Linked DNA regions of Homo sapiens: region 2 is linked to region 1. The links are contacts of gene promoters, found by promoter capture Hi-C in blood cells and fetal thymus (Javierre and others, 2016). All regions are on one chromosome and are shown on one strand. Each heading gives the region's core, a stretch centred on a gene start or on the middle of the fragment in contact. The rest is flanking DNA. Distances are from core to core; before and after follow the strand shown.

The links. Contacts are between HindIII fragments. The CHiCAGO score rates a contact against its expected background, and 5 or more counts as called.
Region 2: a fragment that was not itself captured here is called in contact with the fragment with the promoter of MMP13 in region 1 in 1 of 17 cell types (M0 macrophages); the score reaches 5.2 in M0 macrophages.

What each region holds. Positions count from the first base shown.
Region 1 is chr11:102,954,482-102,957,181 of GRCh38, forward strand. MMP13 (matrix metallopeptidase 13) reads right to left here and starts at 1,251. Exons shown (of 10, transcript NM_002427.4): 1 at 1,105-1,251; 2 at 771-1,012; 3 at 1-125. The coding sequence starts at 1,224. RefSeq lists an enhancer at 684-1,883. The HindIII fragment of the contact is 7,221 bases long and covers 1-1,757 here.
Region 2 is chr11:102,235,717-102,238,416 of GRCh38, forward strand. No RefSeq gene overlaps it. Among named protein-coding and RNA genes, the nearest start is that of BIRC3, 80 kb to the right of the region's middle. The HindIII fragment of the contact is 3,342 bases long and covers 1-2,700 here.

The sequences.
Region 1 (2,700 bases), core at 1-2,500:
TGTCAGCAATGCCATCGTGAAGTCTGGTAAAATTCAGAGGAGTTACATCGGACCAAACTTTGAAGGCTTTTTTGAATGCCTTTTCGACTTCAGAATGAGTCATATCAGGGGTGTAATTCACAATTCTATTTAACAGAGAAAGTTTCAATGAACTTTTTGGAAAGTGACAGCTATTTTAGAATACATTTTCTTGGTATATTGCTTTTCAATTCAAAATGCAATAATTTCTTTGAAAGTTCTACTAGAGGTTTATTGTTTCAAATAATGTATTAATTATGATGCCATACAAGAATAAAAAGTCAAAAATTCAGCCACATTTGAGTATCTCCAAATATCTGACCATGTGGCATCTTAAATTTAAAATATTCCAATGTTTAATATAATTTATTTTGCATGCTAAAAGTTTAGATTACATTGATAAAGCTCAAATAAATGAAATAGCTCTGTAAAGTTTCTAGAAAGAGTGGAACTCTTCATCTTGAGCACTGTTGTAATAAATACACCTAATGTACTATGTTTGCAAATTTTCTTTAACCTACTTTTATTTCTCTTTTGATTTCATCTCTAAAAGAAATACTTTGAGATGCCCACTAAAAAATAATGCTGAGTTAATGTAACAATAATAGATGTTATGAGGTATTCTCGGCAACCATATTAAAGCTATTCTGGAATTTAACTGCCAATTAAATAATAAGGCCTACTTAATATTAGACATTTAATACTACAAGAAAAGGCTAACAAATATGAAAGAAAGATAGCCTATGATTTACCTGTAGGTTAAATTCATTTTGGACCATTTAAGAGTTCGAGGGAAAACATTGTATTCACCCACATCAGGAACCCCGCATCTTGGCTTTTTCATGACATCTAAGGTGTTATCGTCAAGTTTGCCAGTCACCTCTAAGCCGAAGAAAGACTGCATTTCTCGGAGCCTCTCAGTCATGGAGCTTGCTGCATTCTCCTTCAGGATTCCCGCGAGATTTGTAGGATGGTAGTATGATCTCAGGTAGCGCTAGAAAAGACACCAAAATGAACTGCGTTTAAAAGAGAAGGACATTTCTGAGATGTACCAACCGCATCATCAGGATTGGCAAGATACTCTACCTCTGCAAACTGGAGGTCTTCCTCAGACAAATCATCTTCATCACCACCACTGGGAAGGGGCAGGGCCCGACAATGAGTCCAGCTCAAGAAGAGGAAGGCAGCCAGGACCCCTGGATGCATCTTGAATGGTGATGCCTGGGGACTGTTGTCTTTCCGCAGAGATTACCTTTACTTTTATAGGCCTGCAATGGTGAGTCATCACTTATGGATAGGTTTCCACTTCCCAGTCACTTGAAGGTAAACATGCTTACGTGGCGACTTTTTCTTTTCCCTCCCGAGTGTGGTTTGTGGTAGAATTTGAGGGAAATATAAATGAGAGCATCTCTTGTTTCAGCAGGGTCTCAAAACCCATCTGGCAAAATAAACGGCCTCAGCATATTTATGGATACTGTGGGAAGAAGCAGAGAGTAGTACATTTTTTACTTCACTTAGCAAAATTTTTTTTTTTTTGCCTTCTGTAAGAACGTATCTACTTTTGCTTCTTCGAATAATAAGTGTATCAAGATGGCATGTTTACTTCCATAAAGAGAAACTTAGTACTGATTCTAGAATGTTTACTACTGCCTGGTAAATTATAAACTGCATTTTCTCTAGAATAACTACAGAGAGATGTCTTGTGTCTACCTGAAGTTCACGATATTGGACCAAAACCAAGCTTGATGACTTGGAGGTGCTACGGCACAACCGCAGGATTGAGCCCCATGGTTGGAATTTAAACACACTGGCATGACCTCTCGACAAATATGGAGTCCTGCATAAATTCCCTACAGATTCAGACAGAGGTAGAAGAATTACATTGGAACGGAACAACTGTAATGGCTAGCACAAACAGGGATTACTGCATTCTAGGTTTAAAAGGCATTATCTCATTTAATCCTTACAACAGCCACATAGGTGCTGTCAGAAAGCTTGTTTTCCATTTTACATATGAATAATCTGATACACTGAGAAGTTAAATACTTGTATACGGTCATATAGTTTATAAATGATACCAGGATTTGAACCTAGGCCAATAACTCAAAACTCAATGTTCTTGACCACCGTCCCTGTCTAATTATGACCTCCACCCTTTCCATTCTCAGATATTTTCTTAAAAGCTGAGCTGTTTGGTTCCTACACCTCAGGGAGTGCCCAAGAAAACTAGGGCTGCAGTAGGCCAATTTCAAGTTTCTCAATTTTTAAGTTTGAATAATAGAAGTAATCTTGGTCCAACCATCAGGAAAATAGTCCTAGGGGCCTCTACCCTATTATTCCTTTCAGAACATCACACATTCAGTACCGTGAAATCAAAGTGCCATCTTTGGTCCCCTGCAGAAGTAAATGGGTAGAGCAATATAGGCCATGATCTTTGGATTTATTGGACTTCTTTAAATAAATGATTGGAAATGCAGGTTAATTTGAGTGACTAAGAGTCAGAAAGAAAATGCTGCTCAGGTCAGGAACATAGTAAGACAAAGAGAAGGAGCATGAATACAGCTTTAGGGTGAGTACGAAATGGGTATCCTAACATATGAGTAAAATCCTATAATCTAGAGTAGCCAGTGCCTTAGAGAAAAATCAGAAAAGCCTACAACATGTATGTGATCATTTGAGGGA
Region 2 (2,700 bases), core at 105-2,604, 720 kb before region 1:
CTAGTATCTTTGCCACTGAAAGCAATTATTTGGAGACCTCTTAGCAAAGGGTCTACTTCTGTAAAATTTTTGAACACCTAGTCTAGTTAACTTAAAAACAAACTTTAACTGTTAAAGAAACAAGAACTAGAGGTACTGTAACTTTGTGAAATTGGTATTGGTTTGCACTCAGTTAGTGGACAGGGCTTGATTTTTTTGTAAAAGGAACTTGTAAAAACTTCTTAGGGTTGTGACATACCTTTCCCCACGTTTCCTTACATCTTGTCCCAGGTATATTTTTGTGGAATTATAGTTCCCACGACCTTCATAGAATCTATATAAAATATGAGTTAAACTTCACATTTGGTTGTAATTTTACTTGGGATATTATTAGAAGCCACATCTCAGTTCTTTTTTTTTTTTTTTTTCTTTTTTTGAGACGGGGTCTCGCTCTGTCACCCAGGCTGGAGTGCAGTGCCGCAATGTCAGCTCACAGCAACCTCCACTTCCTGGGCTCAAGCAGTTCTCGTGCCTCAGCCTCCCAAGCAGCTTGCGCCACCCACCCAGCTAATTTTTGTATTTTTTGTAGAGACGTGGGGTTTCACCATGTTGTCCAGGCTGGTCTCAAACTCCTGAGCTCAAGTAATCAATCTGCCCACCTCCACCTTCCAAAGTGCTGGGATTACAGGCCTGAGCCACCACGCCGTGCCCCACATCTCAGTTCCTTTTAAAGCATTTGTTCTGTTTCAAATCGGGTTTTTATGTTACAGTGGATTTACACAATTAAAATGATAGCATATCTGGCAAACTTGAACTAATTTTCTCAAGGATCTGGATTAAATGGCAGGATCTGAGAGAAAATCTCCTGTCTATCAGTGCTATCACCAAGAGCTACTGAAGCCAGCTACTCAAAGCTGAGCTTCACTAGTGATGCAGCCATTGGGAAACCTAGCTAAAGACACTTCCTCCTCCTTCAGGGAACCTCTCAGCAACTTGTATTTGGCACTTTTTTCTACTGAATAAGAGGTAAAGCCTGGCACGGTGGCTCACGCCTGTAATCCCAGCAATTTGGGAGGCCAAGGCAGGCAGGTTACCTGAGGTCAGGAGTTCAGGACCAGCCTGGACAACATGGTGAGACCCCGTATCTACTAAAAATACAAAAATTCGTTGGCTGCGGTGGCAGGCAGCTGTAATTCCAGCAACTGGGGAGGCTGAGGCACGGAGAATTGCTTGAACCCAGGAGGCGGAGGTTGCAGTGAGCTGAGATCGCGCCACTGCATTCCAGCCTGGGCAACAGAGCGAGACTCTGTCTCAGGGGGAAAAAAAAAAAAGGAAGAGGAGGTAAACACATCTGCAGGCAGAGTTCAGCAGAGGCATCTGCCTCATGGGCTGTAGCCCAGTGGATTCTAAATGATACTAGGATCACAACTAGATAAGACTGATCACTTGGATGACCGTGAATTAAGACCTTAGATTTTATAAGAGATACAATGGCTCATATTCAGGGACAGCCAGACTGTTAGGTAATTTGAAGTCACACCACAAAAACCACATGTGCATCATCTTCCAAAAGGAGGCCATTTGCTGAGGTGTTTTGTCTCTGAGCACTAGTAAGTCTGTTGAGCCCTGTAAAATAATCCCAAATGGGACTGCCCAGTGAAGAATGTGGACTTGAGATTTAGTTGTTCTTTTACAGTCCAAATCATTGAAAGACAGCATAGCTTTTCTGTATTCTAGGCCAAAGGAATTTCTGTGGAATTCTGCTATGGGAGTTTCAGAAAACCAGCCTAAGCCCATTTAGTGTCATTCAGAAAACAGCTGATGCTTCATTGAGGGGCAGCGGGCGGGGATGGGGGTGACGGGTGCTTAACAGCCAACTCACAGCTCACCTTCGAGGCCACATCTTTATCTGGAATGCAGTGGCAAACCCTACCCCAAATTCAGGATGTTGCTGAGGAAATTTTCCACTGATTTGAGCTAAAACTTTGACTAAATCCCTATCAGTCTTCCAAAATCACTGAAGAAAAATTCTCAATACCTGAACATCTCCAGTGTTCTCATAGTTTTGTTGTTCTATCCTGGTCACTATGACAAATTTGAAAGGCAGATTATTCCAATTAAGTTGGTGTCCCACTGCCATCACTTACTGTGGGATTTGGAGTCTCTCAGACTTTTTCTCCATCAGGGGTAAAGTGAACGTACTACAATTTGCACTATCTCAAGACACTGATAAAGAAGATCAAAGTGTTATAAAAGCAACTGGTAAACCGTTAACATTCCTTAAAAGTGATACTGTATTTTAAAATCACTATGACCTTTTCTCAATATCATCTTGTTTAAAGACATAGTATTATTGAATAATTCAAAATAGTCCTTCAAACTTGAGTAGGTCTACCCAGGGCATCTGCATAAGTACATGAGGCTCTGTCTTGTTCTGTCATTAAGATGCACACCATCTTCAATTTTATAAGTATGCTATTTGTTTTTCAGTATTTTAATATTCTGTAATTACTGAGATGCTCCCACATATGATCTCCTTGTTTGGTCATACCAAGATCAAATAAGACATAATTATTACAATTCCTAATTGTGTGCCTCAAACCTAGGTTTAAATCCCACACTATGGCTGTGAGATGACTAGAAGTTGAGGGGGTAGCCCATAACTGGAAAATGCTTTCTGTATACAAGGCTAACCGTATTCCCTGGGGCTCAAAATTGTCT